Linked DNA regions of Homo sapiens: all the other regions are linked to region 1. Evidence: promoter capture Hi-C in 16 types of primary human blood cells and fetal thymus (Javierre and others, 2016). All regions are on one chromosome and are shown on one strand. Each heading gives the region's core, a stretch centred on a gene start or on the middle of the fragment in contact. The rest is flanking DNA. Distances are from core to core; before and after follow the strand shown. Region 1 holds the start of CELF3 (CUGBP Elav-like family member 3). Region 2 has its middle 13 kb from the start of POGZ. Region 3 has its middle 19 kb from the start of CGN. Region 4 overlaps THEM4 (thioesterase superfamily member 4). Region 5 overlaps CGN (cingulin). Region 6 has its middle 16 kb from the start of THEM5. Region 7 overlaps TUFT1 (tuftelin 1).

Region 1 (2,931 bases), core at 113-2,612:
ACATTGAACACCTGACCCTGTGTCCTGACCCCCATCCCAATATTATCTGAGGCTGCTCAGATTCTCAGTCTTGCTGCACACGCACACACACACACACCCCTACCCAGCTGCTTATCTCCCAAACCAGCTCTCTTGTCCCTCCATTCTTTCTTGAGTTCATCCCATGACATCAACACACCCATATGTCTGGGATCCACATCTTTGCAGCCGTCTTGACAACTCTTCAGCCAAAAGAGGCCCTCCTTAGTCCTTCACCGGGGTTTCCTGATCACTCTAGCTGAGTTCTTTTTCAGCTCCTCCATCCACTTTCCTCAGGCCTGAACTCTTCTCCTTCCACATCAGCCCTTCCCAGCCGCTCCACCCCTCCAGCCTGGCTTAACTTCCCCCAGCCTCCCAGCCCACCCCGAAGCCTCTTCAGCCTGCCCGACCCCTCACCCTTGTGCAGCCCGGTGTACTTGTCCTTGATGACAGTCAGCTCAAAGATCCGACCAAACTGTTCGAAGATGGGCTTCAGGTCCTTCTCCTCCAGATGCCTCGGGATCTGCCCCACAAACAGCTTGATGGCATCCGGCTCCTTCATTGAGGCGGCCCAGGAGGAGGGGCCGAGGGGAGCAGGGAGAGGCCCAAAGGCCAAGGGGAGCTGCCCAGCAAGGAGATAAGTGGTGGGGCCCGGGGGCCCAGCTGGGGCTGGCTTTCCCTTTGGCCCCCAACCACGCTGCTAAGCAGAGGGGCGGCTCTTCACACAAAGGAGGCCCAGGGAGTTGAGTGCTAGGGGTCAGGGGTCTAGGCAGACGCTGTCATGCCACCAGGGGGCATCGCCTAAACAAACGATCTCCCTCCCAGAGATCTGGCAAATGTCCCAGGATGGGGGTGAGTATGGCCAAGACCTGGAGGGTTAGGTGGTAGCCGGGGGTGCTAGGGCTTAGAGGGCTGGGAACTGGGAGTTGAGATGAGAGCTGGAGGCGGGGAAAGGGCCTGAGGAGGGTGATGGGGAGGAGACTGAGGGGTTAAGGGGCCTGCTATGGTTGCCAGCAGCGTCAGTAAGGGGGGCCCACTCCTGATGTGGGGCAGGTGAATCTCTCGTTGGCTTCCCTGGGAGGACACCTCCCCTGTGGCGGATCCTTCTGCTGGGTCCGAAGATCCCTGATGCCAGATGCTTGATCTCTGATGGCGGCAGGGCTCCAGGGGTCCCTTTTGCCCTGCCGCCCCCCTTCAGGTCCTCCCCTCAGCCCCCCTCCCACCCCCACCCCAGTCCCCGGGCCTGGGCTGCTGCCGGCTGCTCCCGCCGCTGGGGCTGCCTGCTTTCCCGGTCACCTGGGTCCCGGAGCTCTGCTCTCCGGCCGCGCTCTCCTCAACAAAAACCTCCCCCCTCCACACCCCCCTCCCCACTCCCACCTCCTTTCCCCTGACATCAGTGATGTCAGTCTCAGGGGTCGAATACAAATTCTCTACCCTGGAGAGGGACGCACAATCCAGGCACGAGCCACGCCCTCTTTCTATCTCCATCCTCCCTGACTCCCTTCCCGCCCCCAGAAGAGCAGCTGGTCCTGTTGATAATAACCCTTCCCCCATCTTACTCCCCAGTCAGGAGTTGGGCAAAGCACTAAGATGGAGAATTTATAGAGGAACCCTAAAGTGGGGTCCATTGTTCCGGGGGCTGGAGCTGTCCCCGGTGCTGGAAGACTCAGCAGATGGGGGGTGGCGGGGAAAGAGGGGAGCCCGGCATCTGGGGAGCCCCAAGAGTAGAGAGTCAAGGAAAGAAATCAGGGGAAAGAAAAATGAGAAAGGACGGTTGCATAGGCTGAAGGGAAAGGAGATATAGATGGAGAGGGAAGCAGGTCGCAGAGTCTGGGGGAAAAAGAAAAAATGCAGAGAGGAAAAATGGAAAGGGACGTGGAGAAGGAGGAGCAGGATGAGAAGAATGCAGAAAGAGAACTGTATATTTTCCAGAAAAGGAACCAAGAAAAACGATAGCTTTCTGGCATTTGCCGATGCCCCCTTCTCTCCCTCTGGGGGGTTTGTGTGTATAAGTGCGTGGGCAGGGAGGCCGCGGAGGCGGCGCCGCGGGCGCTCTCACTTGTAAGCTCCTTGAAGACCAGGACACCGTTTAATTCAGCATCTTACTGTTCACAGTGTCTAGCACCCTGTCTTGCTCATGCGTAGCAGGAGCTTAACAAACACTCCATGCAAACAACCTCTGACAACAGTGGATTCCTGATTCCTTCAGTGGGAAGAACCACAGCTGTCAAGCTTCCCCTTAGGATGCAGAAACCCAATTACTCTTTCCTTTGCTTCTTTCTTCAGTTGGGTTCTTTGAGTTGGACTCAAATTGAGCCAGGTAGCACAGAAGAGCAGGGGAGGCACATTCGGGGACCATTGCTCCCCTGACCATGGATACTTCTATGGATGATTGGCAGGCTCCACGATCTGGAGGGAGCGTGACCCCTCCATGCACTGGGCCCACTCAGAGCACGCCCTCAGTGCAGGGATTATCTGTGGACATCAAACCTTGTCAGTGGTGGTAGCCCTTGCTTTCTGTCAGTGCTCAGCAACGGGGGCTCTCCTGGGGCTCTGGGCTTTTGTAGAGCACCCTGTCTTCCTGTCATTCCCTTCTTCTCCCCCGGGGTAGGGCTGCTGTTTCCACAGAGGCACTCGTGTCTCTAAACTGTGTCCCAGCTGAGTCCCAGGGGCCTCCATTCCTGAGCTATCACGGCAGGCAGGCTTCTCTTCTGGAAGGGAAATAATAGTAACAGCCAGTGCTTACATGGCTCTTACAGTGTCCCAGGCTTTGTGCCAAGTGCTTTATATTTACTAACTCCTAAACCCTCACCACCCCCCTATGATGTAGATTTTGTCATCTCCAAATAGAGAGGAGGTAACCAAGACACAGAGCTGAAATAACTTGCCTAAAGCCATGCAGCTAGAAAGAGG
Region 2 (2,931 bases), core at 307-2,806, 240 kb before region 1:
GTGCAATGGCACCATCTCGGCTCACTGCAACCTCTGCCTCCCAGGTTCAAGTGATTCTCCTGCCTCAGCCTCCCGAGTACCCAGTAGCTAGGATTACAAGTGCCCACCACCACGCCTAGCTAACTTTTTTACTTTTAATAGAGACCCCATCTGTATTAAACCCCTTTTGCCATGTTGGCCAGGCTGGTCTTGAACTCCTGACCTCAAGTGATCCACCTGCCTCGGCCTCCCAAAGTGCTGGGATTACTGGCATGAGCCACCGCACCGGGCCCAATTTGGGCGTTTTAATCCAAACGTTAAGCTACTGAAAGTGGCCAGATTGGAGTGTGTGTAATGGGGGGAAGAAATGGGTGTAAAGATAGAAAGTTTCAGTCACAAACTTGTTAGCATGACAGAGAGCTCCCCTACTTGAGAAGGGACAAAGTCAATTCAAGACCTTTGGGCTTTCTGGCTGGATGCGGTGGCTCATGCCTATAATCTCAACACTTTGGGAGGCCAAGGCAGGTGGATCACCTGAGATCAGGAGTTCGAGAACAGCTTGACCAAAATGGTGAAACCCCGTCTCTACTGAAAATACAAAAATTAGCCGGGCGTGGTGGTGTGCGCCTGTAAATCCAGCTACTAAGGAGTCTGAGACAGGAGGATTGCTTGAACCCAGGACGCAGAGGTTGCAGTGAGCTGAGATTGCGCCACTGCACTCCAGCCTGGGCAACAGAGCAAGACTCCATCTCAAAACAAACAAACAAACAAACAAAGACCTTCAGGCTTTCATATAACCTATATGGGTGGATGAAATTTTAGAAATAAATAATAAGGGGAAAAAAGATAAATAAAAATTCAAATTTTAAAATAAAGTAAAATAGATCCATGGGGGTATCTGATGACATGATATTCCAGCAACTCAGATTTCTCTGGGACTCCACTGGAGACAGATCTTTCAGGCACATTTGTAATATGTCCACTGCCCAGGGGACAGGATAGAAGAGCCATAGAAAAAAAGGGAACTTGGCAGAATTGCCTTTGTATAACTTTCTTTCAGTAAAGAAAGTTATAGCTTTCTTTACTGAAATAATAGCTTTAAAGAGACAAATTATTCACAAATCATTAGTAGGAAATGTTGAGATGAGATGATAAGCAAGAAAGGTAATTAAAGTCTGTACTATTCTTAAAATGAAATACTGTCTAAGTATAGAGGAATAAATTAGATGACTTTTCAACCTTTCCAATCTAAGCATCCTTAAAAAGTTCCACTGTCTAGCACAGTGGTTTTTAAACATTTTTTGACAGCCACCCACAGTAAAAAGCATATTCTACATCTTGACTGGCTACACACAAACACACAGTACTTTTCATGATTCAGATTGTATGAAAGACTACTGATATTCACTATGTGATAGCTTTCTATTCTCTTTTATTACACCTCTTTTTTTTTTTTTTTTTTTTTTGAGACAGTGTCTTGCTCCGTTGCCCAAGCTGGAGTGCAGTGGCTTATAAAACATGGCTCACTGCAGCCTTGAACTCCTGGGCTCATGCAATCCTCCTGCCTCAGCCTCTGGAGTAGCTGGGACCACAGAAGTGCACCACCACACCCGGCTAGTTTTATTTTTATTTGTAGAGATGGGATCTCCCTATGTTGCCCAGTCTGGTCTCCAACCTGGGGCCTCAAGTGTTCCCCCTGCCTCGGCCTCCCAAAGTGCAGGGATTACAGCTTGGGCCACTGTGCCCAGCCCTTTCTTCCATCATTCCGTCCTCTCCTTCCTTCTTAATACTGCTTGTCAAACTGATTTTGCCACCCAGTTTGAAAAAGAAGGTCTAGAGGATTATCCCAATCATTAACTATTTCTGCAGGTTAGCTTACCTTTCCAGAATACAGAATAGAATTCAGCAAACTGCCTCAAAGAGCAGTTTCTAGATTTGACTTCTTCCTCTAGGGTTTATGAAGTCATCATACTGAAGTGACCTGGATTTCCCTATACGTGAACCTCATGACGTGGGAGCCCGGGGTAGGGAGGGACAGATAACATGAGAATCAATAGAAAGAACTGCAAGGTCTGAAGACAAGAACCATTTGTCTAGTGGAGTCTATTTTATATCCATTTTTTAAAAATCTCCATTTAAGATATTTAGCTTCAACGTGCACCTTGACCAATTAATCCAACAAACAAAACTCTGGCTTGGGGGCCCAGTTACTCACTTTCATGGAAAGAGACCTCTGTTTTTAGAACCAGGGATCTTGTGAGTCCCTCCCACGTCCCCAGCCCTTCTCTGGCCTCGGGTAACTTTTCCCTCCAGTTTGGTGGAAGGTTACATTAGAAGAAAATAGTCCCTACCGTCTAGAAAGTTTTCGGGGGGGGAAAAAAGGGCGTTGGACGTGCGGGTGGGTGGGTATACCGGGAGGGGACAGCTGGAGCCGCGAAGGCGCGGGGGCCCGCGGCGCGTGGGTGTGGAGGCCGCGGGGCGGCAGGAGGCACTGGGAAGCGGGGTGAAGAGCACCGAAGTCCAGAAAAGGGCAGTGTCCGCCCTGCGCTCCTCTGCTGGCGCCCGCAACCCGGGAGGGAGCGGCGAGGCTCCGAAGGGTGGGATTCGAGGTCTGAACCCTCGAGTGGGCTTGGGTTTTCAGGAGCCGCCTTTTCTTATTGATCATTTCTCTTTTGTCATCATAATCTCTTGGCCTCAGACTGAGTTAAGGGAGCCATAGTAGGAGTGCAGAAAATGAAGTGGAGGAAAAAAAAATGTGATATTTAAAATATAGTTTTTCCTACTTTCTTTTTCTCTCTCAAATTAATTTAGATGTAAATAACATTTTAACAGGGCCCAACATCAGGCTCCTAGGCTCTGGCTGCTGGTCTCACTTGACACCAGAATAAGATTTTGGTGTGCTAGTAATTTTGCCAAATGGAGGCCTACTCCCCAAAACATCACCGTGGTGCA
Region 3 (2,931 bases), core at 129-2,628, 220 kb before region 1:
TGTGGCCACAGCTCCTGGCTCATATCTCTCAATGCCCCTGTTACAGTCTTTTTTTTTTTCTTTTTCTTTTTCTTTTTTTTTTTTTTTTTGAGATGGAGTTTCACTTTTGTTGCCCAGGCTGGAGTGCAATGACGCAATCTTGGCTCACTGCAACCTCCGCCTCCTGGGTTCAAGTGATTCTCCTGCCTCAGCCTCCCAAGTAGCTGGGATTACAGACATACGTCACCACGCCCGGCTAATTTTGTATTTTTAGTAGAGACGGGGTTTCTCCATGTTGGTCAGGCTGGTCTTGAACTCCCGACCTCAGGTGATCCACCTGCCTTGGCCTCCCAAAGTGCTGGGATTACAGGCGTGAGCCACCGTGCCCGGCCTACAGTCTTTTGTTATAATGTTAGGACACTTTAGGATTCAGAGGCCGGCCTCAGAAAGCAGACTTTCTTGCTATCTGACTTTCTCCCGCTCTTATTTATTTATTCATTTATTTATGTTTTGAGATAATGTCTCACTCTGTTGCCCAGGTTGAAGTGCATTGGTGTAATCACTGCTCACTGCAGCTTTGATCTCCTGTACTCAATCAATCCTCCCACCTCAGGCTCCTGAGTAGCTGGGACTACAAGTGTGCACCACCATGTCCGGCTAATTTTTTATTTTTTGTAGAGACACTCTCCCTATGTTGCCCAGGCTGGTCTTAAACTCATGAGCTCAAGCAATCCACCTGCTTCGGCCTTCCAAAGTGTGGGAATTACAGGCATGAGCCACCACACCGGGCCTTCCTGTTCTCATTGCACCTGCCAGATGCAGGACTCTAATCTGATTGTGAGTCATAAGACCCTGATTGCAGAGAGGGTCCTACCCCGTAGCCTGGAGGAAGGAAGGCTGCATAGAGAGACCAAGAAGAATCTAACAGACATGCATCTCTCCATTCACATCCTCTGTCATATCCTTTCTAATAAGCTGGTAAACGAAGTGTCTCCCTTAGTTCTGTGAGCTGCTCTAGCAAATGAATTGAGTCCAAAGAGGGGGCTGTAGGAGCCCCAACTTGAATCTGCTGGGTCAGAAATTCTGGAGTCTTGGGTTTTGACTGGTGTCTGAATGGGGTGGGTGGGGGCAGTTTTGGGGTTTGAGCCCTCAACCTGTGGCCTCTTGGTAGATGGTGTCAGAATCGAATTAGAGGACACCCAGCTGGTGTCTGCTGCAGAACTGATTGCTTGTTTGCTGGTGGGGAGAAATCCTCCATATTTGGTCACAGGAGTCTTCTGTCTGTGTTGATTGTTACTGTTGAGTGAGATAACAGGAACAAACACTCTGAGTTTGTGTGTTTTCCCACACACAAGATCCCTATCTCCATTCTCCCTCCTGCTTCAGTCTTCCTTCTCTGAGGTTCTCAGATGCCCTCCCACCTCCTATATCCCCTCCAGTGTCCTGCACTTTCCTTCTTTGCCCTCTGACTTGAACCTAACAATGGTAAGTTTTCTTTGAAGTCTGATGCTACTTTCTAGCCTTGCTTGCCAAAGGTTGAGATTACCCCCACCTATGGCCATAAACTTGTTTTGTATCTATTAATTTATTTAAATTTCTTTCCTATTTAGGGTAGCTGGCAGGTATTATTAGTACCGAGTCTCCAGTGCAACTCTAAGCAAGAAGTTGCTCCTTCTAATACTGGGGACTGCAGGCCGGGCGCGGTGGCTCACGCCTGTAATCCCAACACTTTGGGAGGCCAAGGCGGGCAGATCACAAGGTCAGGAGAATGAGACCATCCTGCTAACACGGTGAAACCCCGTCTCTACTAAAAATACAAAAAATTAGCCAGGCGTGGTGGTGGGTGCCTGTAGTCCCAGCTACTCAGGAGGCTGAGGCAGGAGGATGGTGTGAACCCGGGAGGTGGAGCTTGCAGTGAGCCGAGATCACGCCACTGCACTCCAGCCTGGGCAACAGAGTGAGACTGCGTCTCAAAAATATATATATATATTGGGGGCTGCAAAAAGTAAAGACAGGGAATTTGAGAAGGAGTGCTGGTATACGGGGGAAGTTACTTTGCTTGGTTTGTCTGTGTCCTAAGTAGAGATGAGACGTACAAGTGCAAAAGTTCTGGAGAAAGTTAAATACTGATTCAGTACATGGATGAGAGGTCGGTGTTTAAAATGGAGATTTGAAAGTTGTCTGCTTTTGGAGGTGGCAGGAGAAAGCATGAGAGTGAATGAGCCACTGAAGGGGAAGAGTGGAGGGCAGAGGAAAGGAAAGAGCTTTTTCACAGCTATGGGGAATAGCTGAGAAAGGAAAAAAGTACCCACAGGGACAGGGGAGGGCTAGAGCTGTAGAAAATAATAGAGCAGTGGTATAGAAATCCAAGGAGAAAAGAGTGTGAAAAAATAGGGAGCAGAAGCACAAGAGACATCCGGTAGAAGGAGGACTCAGAAAAGCCTTCAGTTTCCAAGCTCAACTGCAGGTGAGGGACAAGGGAACTTGGAATTACTGCATATAAACTGCTTGAAGATGGTGAATAGAAAGGAAAGAAATATGGCCAGGTGCGGTGACTCACACCTGTAATTCCGGCACTTTGGGAGGCTGAGGCGGGCAGATCTCCTGAGGTCAGGAGTTCAAGACCAGCCTGGACAACATGATGAAACATCATCTCTACCAAAAATACAAAAGTTAGCCGGGTGTGATGGCACACACCTGTAGTCCCAGCTACTTGGGAGGCTGAGGTAGGAGAATCTCTTGAACCCAGGAGGTGGGCCAAGATTGCGCCACTGCACTCCAGCCTGGGCGACGGAGCAAGACTCTGTCTCAAAAAAAAAAAAAAAAAAAAAAAAAAAAAGCAGAGCAGCTACAAGTTACAAGTTGCAAAAGGGTTAGGATAAGGATAAGATTCTTCTCTACACCTTTTTGAGGGCAGAAGGTAACTCAGATGTTACTTCCAGAAGGTGGAAT
Region 4 (2,931 bases), core at 109-2,608, 170 kb after region 1:
TTTATATTGTGTATTTGATTATCATCATATCTTAGATCCCTGAGGTCTAAATCTTATTTATTGTTTCTGTTGATAGTCACCCTTGGTAGTTTCTTTCCTTGTGTATTTGGTACAGGATCTACTTGTTTTGAAGGAGGAATGTCCTTTAGCATTTCTTGTTTGCCATGTTGCATGAAGAAATCGAATCAGGAGCTTCTCAACTCATGTGTCATGAATGGGTCATTGGCATGCTGAGATATTTACCCTTTCAGCTGGCTTGTCATCACTAGTTTGACCTGCTTTGTCTATTTATCTTAATGTGCTAGGCACAAGGAAATAAATCAAGTGGGATATTTGGATCAGAGGGCTGGAAATTATTTGAAATCATTAAGGAATAATCTTGCTTCTTAAAGGAAGTAAGGTAGATTAAGGCATCTGATGATTAATTGACACTGCAAATTATTTTCAATTAAAATATAATCCCAGGTTGTTACCTGTAGCATCTTGAAGGACTGTCAAGTAATCATATTAAATTTAATATTATTACTATTATTATGAACCTAAATAACTGTATACAAAAAAACAGAGAGTGATAAATATTAAATTCTAAACTACTTATAAAATCCAATACTTTATTCTGGTCTTTAGTCATCAACTAACAGAAGACAATGGAGGCTGTGTGTTGTAGTGAAGAGCATCAGATTTGGTGTCATAAGATGTGAGTTCTAATTCTGACTAAATTGCTCTCTATCCATATGACTTCAGGTAAAACTTCTTTTCAGTATGTTTTCCAATTGTGGGGAACAAATGAACAGCAATGCAACTGATTTTTGTGGATGGTTTATTGGGTGGGACAAACACTAAGCATAGAGTTTGGCAGGTTCTGTTTCCCATTTTGCATTTGAGTATGTGCTTAAGACACAAACACTTTTTGAGATAAACAGCAATCTAAATACTTTGTTTCAGCTTGTTTTCAAAGTAACCGTTTACATTTATTTTTTTAGGAACGATGTTATACTTCATTATTCAACTTTATTTGAACATGGAAAAATATTTTTAAAAACATGGGACATGGAAAAATATAAAAAATTTAATTTTTAATATATTCTTTAACATGTTAAGAAAACCCAGATTTCTAGAATCTAATTTATAGTTATAACTAATATGAAATATTGACCATCTGTAAATATGTCAACTTTCCCCAAATTAATCTCTAGAATCAATGTAATTGCTATTAAAATTGTTAAAAGGAGGTACAATGACAATCTGGGTTTAAAGGTTAAAAATCTAAGGCACAACTAGGAATAGAAAGAAACTCTCTCAACATAATAAAGGCTATTTATGAAAACCCTACAACTAACATCATGCTGAATGGTAAAAGACTAAAACCTTTTCATTTAAGATCAGAAACAAGACAAGGATGCCCACTTTTGCCACTTCTATTCTACATGGTACTAGAAGTCCTAGCCAGAGCAATTAGGCAAGAAAAAGAAATCAAAGGTATTCAAATTGGAAAGGAAGAAGTACAAAGATCTGTTTACAAATGACATGACTTTGTATATAGAAAATCCTAAAGATTCCACAAAAACCTGTTAGAATGAATAAACAAATTCAGCAAAGCTGCAAGATGTAAAATCAACACAGAAAAAGCAGTTGCATTTCTATACACAAACAATGACTAATCCAAAAAGGAAATTAAGAAAACAATTAAGGCCAGGTGCAGTGACTCACATCTGTAATCCCAGCACTTTGGCAGGCCAAGGCAGGCGGATCACTTGAGGCCAGGAGTTTGAGATCAGCCTGGCCAACAAAGTGAAACACTGTCTCTACTGAAAATACAAAAAATTAGCCAGCTGTGGTGGTGCATGCCTGTAATACCAGCTACTTGGCAGGCTGAGGCATGAGAATAGCTTGAACCTGGGAAGTGGATGTTGCAATGAGCTGAGATCATGCCACCACACTCCAGCCTGAGCAATAAAGTGAGACTTTGTCTCAAAATAATAATAATAATAATAAAAAAATTAAAAATAAAAAAATCAAAAAGAATAAAATACATAGGAATAAACTTAACCAAAGAGCAAAAGTCTTATACACTGAAAACTACAAAACATTGATGAAAAAAATTAAAGACACAAATAAATGGAAAGACATCTGTGCCTGTGGACTGAAAAGACTCGGTGTTTTGTGTGTGTGTGTGTGTTTTTGTTGTTGTTGTTTTTTTTACAGTTGGGGTCTTGTTGCCCACCCTGGAGTGCAGTGGCATGATCCTAGCTCACTGTAGCCTTGAACTCCTGGGCTCAAGCAATCCTCTCAAGAAGCTAGGACTACAGACGTGCACTGCTGGGCCCAGCTAAATTTTTAAAAAATTAATTTTGTTATGTAGTAGATGTTGGTGCTCCACCCAGAGCCCCTTGGATCCTTTCTTCACTTGTTTTGGTTATTTTCTCTAGAGTCTGCTTTGCTCAAACACAGAGACCCTTAGAAGTACTTGGAAATTTATGGTCCCTGGGATGGCCCTGATCCTATGACCAATACATGCGAGAGTATAAAGACTCTAGCTCCCTCATCTGAGATGGAGACAATTCTGAGGCATAAATTTCATTCTAGAGCTCTCTTGTATGATCTGGCTAAAGCTATGCTTTGCTGGACTTTTGAGAGTTCAGCCTTGGTTGACACTTCTTCATCTTCCCCGTCCTGCTTCTCCCACTCCCTTGCTAGTCTCCTCTGGGAGCACTTCCTTAATAATCACTTGAACACAAATTATGGTGTCAAGATCTGCAACTGGGAACCTGACTTAACAACACCTAAGGATAAATAGAGAATTACTGTGAATTTACCTTTTATAATTGATGTTGAGATTGGCAGTCATGACGATTCCCCCAGCCATCATTGCACACATACCAACAGTAGCATCAATCATGGTTGCAATGGCACCTCCATGAATGAATCTAG
Region 5 (2,931 bases), core at 270-2,769, 180 kb before region 1:
CTCCCTCCTTTTCTTCCTCCCTCCCTCTTGGCTTTTCTCCTCTGTGGCTCCCTCCATCTTCCACCTCAGATATGGCCAGCCTGGCCTGATCTTTAGGGAACACTTTCTCCTGATAGAGAGCAAAGAGTGTTGCAGAAATTCTGAAATGTGAATGACGTCACTCTCCCTCATTCTTTGAATCTGCCCTGGATCCTGCCCAGTCTAATGGTGGAGCTCATGGCTGAGAGGAGTCCTTGGGGACAGTAGGGGGCCAAGTTAGGATTCCCTTAGAAATGGGGACACTCATAGACATTCTTCTACCTCACCTTAGGGAGAAGACAGTTCTGCAGTCTACCAATCGAAAACTGGAGCGGAAAGTTAAAGAACTATCCATCCAGATTGAAGACGAGCGGCAGCATGTCAATGACCAGAAAGACCAGGTGAGGACATGGCACCCTGGAGCCAAGCAACCTGGGGCAGGTATATATTATATGTTTTCCTGAAAGCCAAGGGAGGCCCTTATCTCCTATAGGTCCTCCAAACTTAGACTTTCCTTGTATAAGGACAGAGATTAGATTGAAAAGACTAGACTAGAGAAGTCATGGTAAGCGTATATATTGAGTGCTTATGATGTGCTAGGTTCTGTAAGTATTACACATGTGTTAATACATTTAATCCCTAAGACAACCATGTGAGGTTAAGGAACTTGCCCAAGGCCACATTTTTCCAGCGGCAATTATACCTTGTCAAGATTGTTATGGGGGAGGGTCCCAGGCCATGGTAGTAGATGCTATTCAGATGTGTGGACTTGGTATCCTGCCCAGCTAAGCCTGAGGGTGAAGGCTTTGAAGCGTCAGGTGGATGAAGCAGAAGAGGAAATTGAGCGACTGGACGGCCTGAGGAAGAAGGCCCAGCGTGAGGTGGAGGAGCAGCATGAGGTCAATGAACAGCTCCAGGCCCGGATCAAGTCTCTGGAGAAGGACTCCTGGTATGGGCTACCCTTTTGCCCTTGCTCCATAGGGACACTAGAGCAGGGAGGGAATGGTCTCTCCTGTGCTGGATAAGGAGGAGAATCTCTAACATGGTACTGTGTAGTCACTTGTTTCTGGTTGGAAGCCAGTATATTTATTTATTAGTATCTCAGCCACCATCCTGTACCTCCCCAAATCTGATTAGTTGGGGATTTTGTGAATAAACTTTAGGCCTTAGAAGAATTGGGGTTTCCTTTGTACAAAAAGGGTGGCTGTCTTAATATTTCTATTTTCCCCTCCCCAACCATTATTCTTCTCTCTGAGTCAGGCGCAAAGCTTCCCGCTCAGCTGCTGAGTCAGCTCTCAAAAACGAAGGGCTGAGCTCAGATGAGGAATTCGACAGTGTCTACGATCCCTCGTCCATTGCATCACTGCTTACGGAGAGCAACCTACAGACCAGCTCCTGTTAGCTCGTGGTCCTCAAGGACTCAGAAACCAGGCTCGAGGCCTATCCCAGCAAGTGCTGCTCTGCTCTGCCCACCCTGGGTTCTGCATTCCTATGGGTGACCCAATTATTCAGACCTAAGACAGGGAGGGGTCAGAGTGATGGTGATAAAAAAAAAAAATCATCAGCAATAAGCTGATAGATGGACTTTCCACTGTAGGAGTGGACATTTCAAGCCAACTGAGCCTTTTCCTCAAGTGCCGACACCTCCCTCATCTCTCTTATAGTGGAAGGATGGTCAGCATTAGGCTGATGGGGACTGAGAAGGATAGGAAGGGATAGAAATTGCCATGTGTATAAAGCTTTATTCTTTAGCCCTTAACCCTAAGGCTCAGGGAAATACCCTATGTTATTGTGCTCCCTGGATTCCTGCAACTCATTTTCCTTCCACTCTGGAGCAGGGTGAGGGGAATGTTATGGGTAACAGACATGCAGGCATGGCTCTACCCATTTCTTTGCACAAGTATGGGGCCCATGTGGTAGTCCCCATACCCCTCCAGTTCCTATATTTTTGTCTTCTTCCTTTCCCCTCTTTGCCATTCCTACCTTGCATTTTTCCTGTCAGTGCCTTAGCCAAGGCAAGGAGATAAGGATGCTCTTCTTGCTTTTTATATCTGCACATTCATACCTCTCCAAAGACCAGCTTTTCCCCAGCCAGGGCCCTCAGCCTTCCCTGCTGCCCCAGTGATTGATTGAGAGAGCTGTTGGGGTTTCTCTGCCAATGACCCCTGGGAGAGGGACTTTGGTAGGGTCATGATAAAGTGGCGGGGGTCTGGTCCTGCTCAGGGTTTTCATCCTTCCTCCTCTCCCTCCTCTGTGACTGTGGATATGGTTATAAGGTGGTTGCACCTGGGAGCCCTGACAACTGGCTGCACAAATTCCAAAAGTAAAGGTGTCAGTCCCTGTGGCCTTCCTTGGGGCTTCTCTGACCACATGTGCCCAACTTCAATAAGAGAACCAAGGGACCCTCATTTTCTGAGGTGCTTGGCTCTGATTCAGGGCTTTGCAAGGGGTTAGAAGCTGACTGTAAAAATGGGAAGAGGCAACGGAAGACATTTATTTCTCCTTTGGATTTTGGGGAGAACCAAGCCCTGGTAGGGAAGAGGTAAGGGGGATGATTCACCTCCATATTTCCTAAGCAGGTTGTATAGGGAGCCGGTGGCAGGAGGAAGGCTGTTTTCACAAATGACTTGTAATGTCGTGATTAAAAAAATTCCTATATTCTTCTGCAAATCAAACGTTCTTTCCCAATCCAATCCAGCCTTGGTTTTATTTTAAATTAAATATTAAAATTACACATTTATATTGAAATCCTTGGTTTGTCTTCTCATTCTTTTTCTTGGCATATTTGGAGGTCCAGATTTTATGAAGTCATATTAACTGTACAGCTTAGGAGCCGAAGCTGGAGTTTTCTTCACCTGACTTTTCAGAGGCCCTTTAGAACAGAGCAGATGGGACCTACGAAACCTGGAGATG
Region 6 (2,931 bases), core at 199-2,698, 150 kb after region 1:
AACTCATTGGCATTTAGTACATTCACAATGTTGTGCAACTACCACCTTTCTCTAGTTTTAAAACTTTTTTACCACCCTAGAAAAACAGTATTGTAAGTAATCACTTAAATCACTTCCTGTTCTCTCCTCCATGCGCACCACCCTCATTCCCCTAGCAAGCACTGTATTAGTCCATTCTCACACTGCTATGAACTGCCCGAGACTGGGTAAATTTCTAAAGGAAAGAAGTTTAATTGACTCGCAGTCCTGCATGGCTGGGGAGGACACAGGAAACTTACAATCATGGCAAAAAGGAAAGAAAACACATCCTTCCTGACATAGCAGGAGAGAGAAGTGCTGAGTGAAGTGGGGAAAAGCCCTTTATAAAACCATCAGATCTCATGAGAATGCACTCACTACCACGAGAACAGCATGGGGGAACTGCCCCCATGATCTAATCACCTTCCACAAGGTCCTGTCCCCAACACATGGGGATTACAATTTGGATTACAATTCAAGATGAGATTTTGGGTGGGGACACAGCCAAACCATATCAATCACTAATCTATTTTCTGTCTCTATGGAGTTGCCTATTCTAAATATAGTATTGTTTTCTTTCACTTAATGTGATGCTTTTGAGGTTTATCCAAGCTGCAGCATGTTTCAGTATTTCATTCCTTTGTATGGCTGAATAATAGTCTATTATGTGTGTGTGTGTGTGTACTACAATTTGTTTATCTATTCATTCATTAATGGCCATTTGGGTTGTTTCCACATTTTGGCTATTACGAATAATGCTATTATAAACACTAGTGTACAAGCTTCTGTGTGGATGCGTGTTTTCATTTCTCTTTTATTTATACCTAGCAGTGGAATTGCTGGGTCATATAGTAATTGTATGTCTTTTTGGGGAACTGCCAAATTTTCCGTAGCAGCTGCATTATTTTATATTCACCCAGCAATGTATGAAGTTTCTATTTTTTTTTTTTACATCCTCCTTGACACTGTTTTTAAAAACGAAAAATTATAGACCAGCCTGGCCAAGATGGTGAAACCCCATCTCTACTAAAAATACACAAAAAAATTAGCCAGGTGTGGTGGTGGGTGCCTGTAATCTCAGTTACTTGGGAGGCTGAGGCAGGAGAATCACTTGAACCTGGGAGGCGGAGGTTGCAGTGACCCCAGGTCGCGCCATTGCATTCCAACCTAGACAACAAGGGCGAAACTCCATCTCAAAAAAAAAAAATAAAATAAAATAAAAAAATTATAGGCATTTTAGTAGGTGTGGTCATTGTGGTTTTGATTTGCATTTTTCTAATGATTAGTGATGTTGAGGCTCTTTTCATATACTTGTTAGCCATTTCCATTTCCATATCTTCTTTGGAGAAATGTCCATTCAAGTTCTTCCCCCATTTTTAAACTGGGTTCTTTGTTGTTGAGTTGTAAGAATTCCTTATATATTCTGAATGCGAACACCTTTTTGGATATATAATTTGCAAATATTTTTCCCATTCTGTAGGGATTTTTTTTCACTTCACTGATATTATTCTTTAATGCACAAAAGATGAATTTTTTTTTTTTTTTTTTGAGATGGAGTCTTGCTCTGTCGCCCAGGCTAGAGTGCAGTGGCGCAATCTCGGCTCACTGCAAGCTCCGCCTCCCGGGTTCATGCCATTCTCCTGCCTCAGCCTCCTGAGTAGCTGGGACTACAGGCACCCGCCACCATGCCTGGCTAATTTTTTGTATTTTTAGTAAAGATGGGGTTTCACCATGTCAGCCAGGATGGTCTCGATCTCCTGACCTTGTGATCCGCCTGCCTCGGCCTCCCAAAGTGCTGGGATTACAGGCTTGAGCCACCGCACCCAGCCAATGAAGTTTTGTACCCTGCAATTTTGCTGAATTTATTTATTAGTGCTAGTTTTGTTTTTTTGGTGAATTCTTTGGGATTTTCTATATGTAGACATGTCATCTGCAAATAGAGATAATTTTACATCTTCCTTTCTAATTTGCAAGCTGTTTTTGTTTTTCTTGCTTAATTCCTCTGGGTAAGACTTCCAGTACTATATTGAATAGCAGTAGTGAAGGTGGAAATCCTTACCTTTTTCCTAACGTTAGGGGAAAGCTTTCTGTCTTTTATCACTGAGTGTGATACCAGCTGTGCATTTTTCTAGATTATGTTCAGGTAGTCTTTTTCTATTCCTAGTTTTCTGAGTGCTTTTTGTCATGAAAGGGTGTTGGATTTTGTCAAATGCCATTCCTTGCACCAATTGAGATGATCATGTGGTTTTACTCTCTTGAAGTATAAATGTGGTGTATTACATTGATTTATTTTCTTATGTTGAACCACCTCTGCCTTTCTGGGATAAATCTCACTTGGTCATAGCATATAATCTTTTTAATGTGCTATTGGATTTGCTTGTTATCTTGTTGAGTATTTTTGCATCTATACTCGTAAGGGATATTGATCTGTAGTTTTGACTTTTTTTTTCCTCTTATGGTATCTTTGTCTGCAGTCCACTTAATTTTAAATCTATAATTGAGAAGGAATAAACCAATTCTGTAATTCTAAACTGGCCAGAGTAGTGCCAGACCAAGAATACTATCAAGTGAAATTTCAAACTTTTCTGAGACATAAAATTCATGACTTTAGTGACTTAAATTTGAAAGATTGCCTCATTGTCTCCATCACAGAGGATGTTGTATACTTGGTCCTGAAAAATATGTTTGACTAGGGTCCCATGATGGTCATCCATTAGGTAAGACAATAATTTGGCTTCATAAGTCCCCAGAAGAGGTTAAGCGTCCTGAGAAGGTAATGGGATAGGGAACATAGGAACATGTAGGATATGAGCTTCCTTAATACAGAAGAAAAGGTTTTTCTTAACTTATATATTTCATTCCATCTTCCCATTAGAGAAAAAACTTAATCTTATTTTGCTTTTTGAAAAAATT
Region 7 (2,931 bases), core at 318-2,817, 150 kb before region 1:
GTTATTGTTGCTGTCATTGTCATTATTAGGGCAGCGTGGACATTCTCAGGCTGACTCTCCAGGGTGAACTGACAGGAGATGAACTTGAACACATAGCCCAGAAGGTACTGCGGAATTCTGGTGGGCAAGGCCCCCTCCCCACACCAGTGCTTCCTTGCTGCTGGCCTCTTACCCAAGTACTGCCTGGAGCCGACTCTGGTGATGCGAGCGTGGGAGCCCCTCCTTTCAGCAACATCCAGCTTGCCTCAGCCTTCTGCACTGCTTTGGGGCAGGAGGAGTCCCCCACTAAAATTAAAACTAAACTGCTACTTCTGTCCATTCTCCCTGGCCGGTGTTCTTGCTGCTGTGTGGCTTCTGTTAGAAGTTCGGAAACGAATTTTTGGAGAGGAAAGTCAGACTAATCCTTCAAGTCTTTTGAGAAACAGGTCTTCTGCATTAGCTGAGGGGCAGGAGTTCTGGGCTTGCCATGTGGTGTCTGAGCCATCTCTCTCTCTCTCTCTCTCTCTCATCTCTCTTTGGCCAGGCGGGCAGGAAGACCTATGCCATGGTGTCCAGCCACTCAGCTGGTCATTCTCTGGCTTCAGAACTGGTGGAGTCCCATGATGGACATGAGGAGATCATTAAGGTAAGCTTAGTTCACCTCCAACTTTTCTCCCTGTCCTCTTCCTCCCTGCACGTATATGAGAAGGAGCAGTTGATGTTGTTGCCAAAGGGAGCTTGTGGTTTGATGGAAGGAACCAGACCTGAGCTGCTAGTTCCTGGCAATCTCCTAGAAATATCTTAATTAATACCAGGAGACTACAGTCTGCCTGTTAGCAACTTTGGTGCAGCCTGGCCCCAGGCAAGGGGATGGACTGGATGACCTTACTAGGGGCCTATCCACTGACCATGTTTTGCTGCTAGAGGTTGTGGAGACAGGTAGGAGGTGTGTTTATGGAACTTATGTTTTCCTATAATGGGTTCATCCTGATGGAACTTATTTATTTATTTATATATTTTTAGTTTTGTAGAGACAGTCTCGCCTTGTTCCCTGGGCTGGTCTCCAAATCCTGGGCTCGAGCAATCGTCCTGTCTCAGCCTCCCAAAATGCTGGTATTATAGGCGTGCACCAGCCCACCTGGCTGATGGAACTTATTTTTTAAAAAATAAAATGATTTTTGTTATTTCTCTCTCTCTTTTTTTTTATAAAACAGCTTTTTTAGATATAAATCCCATACCACATGATTGACTCAGTTACAGTTTTGGTCAGTGCATAACAAAACTGCATAACAACGTTTTGGTCAGTGATGGACTGCGTAGACAACAGTGGTCCCATAAGATTATTATACTCCATTTTTACTGTATTTTTTCTGGGTTTAGATACATTACCATTGTGTGACGATCACCTACAGTATTCAGTACAGTAACATGCTGTGCAGGTTTGTTTGTAGCCTAGGAGCAATAGGGTACACCATACAGCCTAGGGGTGTAGGAGGCCATGCCATCTAGGTTTGTGTGTGTACACTCTGTGATGTTTGTACAAGGATGAAATTGCCTAATGATGCATCCCTCAGAATGTATTCCTATGATTAAGTGATGCATGACTGTATATATGTGAGTGTTTATGCCAATACAGCTATATAGCATTGAGCTAAATTTATTGCATTAGGGTAAATTTCCAGAAGTAGAACTGATAGACCAAAAAGTAAATATATTTTTAGGTCTTCTGATCCGAATCACCAAATTCCACCCAGTAAATTGGTGGTAACAATTTACCCTCCCACCAGCACTATATGAAGCTGCCTATTTTTGTATAGTTAATTTAATTTGAGGTTTCTTAACTAAATGGTGTTCTTATTTCAGGTGTACTTGAAGGGGAGGTCTGGAGACAAGATGATTCACGAGAAGAATATTAACCAGCTGAAGAGTGAGGTCCAGTACATCCAGGAGGTGGGCACCCCTTACCTCTCACGCAGTGCCTAGGTCATTTCTCTAAATCTCACATTTTTTGTGACTGTCTTCTTTTGTGGATTCTGGTTTTTCCCCTTCTTTTTCCTTTATGTCTCTGAAATGCCACCATGCCCTCCCGTGTGTCAAATATATAACTTTTGACCATACCTGATCCATTAATCCACAAATACTTAAGTACTATGGGCCCAGCACTGTCCCAGCCACCTATCGAAAATTACCAGCCACTTTTCACAGCATTTCTTAACTCCCTTCCTGGCTCGTGTTTCTCGTTGGCACTTATGCCCATATAACATATTACACATTTTACTTATTTGTCTTTTGTGTCTTGTGTCTCCCCAACAAGAATGTCAGCTGTAGCTCCACTTGACCAAGGTCCCTCCCTCCATCCTGCAGCCAGTCGTTAGGACAGTGCCTGACTCGCAGTACAGGCCAGGGATGGGGCACAGAGTTGGGTGAGTTGGCATGCTCTCTTTCTCTACCCTAAAGCTCAAGTTTCTTCCCCTCCCCTCCCAGGCCAGGAACTGCCTACAGAAGCTCCGGGAGGATATAAGTAGCAAGCTTGACAGGAACCTAGGAGATTCTCTCCATCGACAGGAGATACAGGTAATAGGAAATGGTCCATGGTTGGGTCCCCACCGAGGAGGTGGGGTTGTGCCAGGCAGTCTCATTTACCAATTACCCAGTGTGTGCTAAATCTAGCATCCCTGCCAGGAATGGAGAAAATAGAGGTGATGCTGGCTTCTCTGGAGCACTCACAATCTGGTTAGGACTCTCCAGCCGATGAGCACTTACATTTACACATGTCAGCTTAAACATAAGTACACCTGCTCCTGAAACACTGTACAGAAATTGAACTTATATAAATTAAATATCATCAGTTGTTAGCAAACCTCTTATCTATAAGGATTCTGTGATCAAGCTTCTTATAATAATAGAATTTTGTAAAGCAGACAATCACCTGTAAATCCACACTTCTCATAA

What was found. Contacts are between HindIII fragments. The CHiCAGO score rates a contact against its expected background, and 5 or more counts as called.
Region 2: a contact is called between a fragment that was not itself captured here and the fragment with the promoter of CELF3 in region 1, in 5 of 17 cell types (M1 macrophages, erythroblasts, M2 macrophages and 2 more). The highest score is 8.1, in M1 macrophages.
Region 3: a contact is called between a fragment that was not itself captured here and the fragment with the promoter of CELF3 in region 1, in 7 of 17 cell types (M0 macrophages, M2 macrophages, M1 macrophages and 4 more). The highest score is 12.4, in M0 macrophages.
Region 4: a fragment that was not itself captured here is called in contact with the fragment with the promoter of CELF3 in region 1 in 1 of 17 cell types (megakaryocytes); the score reaches 5.6 in megakaryocytes.
Region 5: a fragment that was not itself captured here is called in contact with the fragment with the promoter of CELF3 in region 1 in 10 of 17 cell types (M0 macrophages, M1 macrophages, endothelial precursors and 7 more); the score reaches 24.5 in M0 macrophages.
Region 6: a fragment that was not itself captured here is called in contact with the fragment with the promoter of CELF3 in region 1 in 2 of 17 cell types (M2 macrophages and M0 macrophages); the score reaches 5.4 in M2 macrophages.
Region 7: a contact is called between a fragment that was not itself captured here and the fragment with the promoter of CELF3 in region 1, in 11 of 17 cell types (M1 macrophages, M0 macrophages, M2 macrophages and 8 more). The highest score is 17.9, in M1 macrophages.

Annotation. Positions count from the first base shown.
Region 1 is chr1:151,715,441-151,718,371 of GRCh38, forward strand. It overlaps CELF3 (CUGBP Elav-like family member 3), which reads right to left and starts at 1,363. Exons shown (of 13, transcript NM_007185.7): 1 at 436-1,363. The coding sequence starts at 580. It also overlaps a transcript of RIIAD1 not described here. RefSeq lists an enhancer at 1,293-1,587. The HindIII fragment of the contact is 2,919 bases long and covers 1-2,248 here.
Region 2 is chr1:151,471,066-151,473,996 of GRCh38, forward strand. No RefSeq gene overlaps it. Among named protein-coding and RNA genes, the nearest start is that of POGZ, 13 kb to the left of the region's middle. The HindIII fragment of the contact is 4,139 bases long and covers 1-2,931 here.
Region 3 is chr1:151,491,046-151,493,976 of GRCh38, forward strand. No RefSeq gene overlaps it. Among named protein-coding and RNA genes, the nearest start is that of CGN, 19 kb to the right of the region's middle. The HindIII fragment of the contact is 6,284 bases long and covers 1-2,931 here.
Region 4 is chr1:151,885,457-151,888,387 of GRCh38, forward strand. It overlaps THEM4 (thioesterase superfamily member 4), which reads right to left. Exons shown (of 6, transcript NM_053055.5): 4 at 2,817-2,927. Among named protein-coding and RNA genes, the nearest start is that of THEM4, 23 kb to the right of the region's middle. The HindIII fragment of the contact is 5,004 bases long and covers 1-2,931 here.
Region 5 is chr1:151,535,927-151,538,857 of GRCh38, forward strand. CGN (cingulin) reads left to right here. Exons shown (of 21, transcript NM_020770.3): 19 at 311-419; 20 at 804-967; 21 at 1,279-2,766. The coding sequence ends at 1,420. Among named protein-coding and RNA genes, the nearest start is that of TUFT1, 2.9 kb to the right of the region's middle. The HindIII fragment of the contact is 471 bases long and covers 1,285-1,755 here.
Region 6 is chr1:151,867,921-151,870,851 of GRCh38, forward strand. No RefSeq gene overlaps it. Among named protein-coding and RNA genes, the nearest start is that of THEM5, 16 kb to the left of the region's middle. The HindIII fragment of the contact is 1,301 bases long and covers 799-2,099 here.
Region 7 is chr1:151,562,062-151,564,992 of GRCh38, forward strand. It overlaps TUFT1 (tuftelin 1), which reads left to right. Exons shown (of 13, transcript NM_020127.3): 2 at 30-104; 3 at 524-625; 4 at 1,843-1,929; 5 at 2,464-2,553. Among named protein-coding and RNA genes, the nearest start is that of MIR554, 18 kb to the left of the region's middle. The HindIII fragment of the contact is 1,878 bases long and covers 629-2,506 here.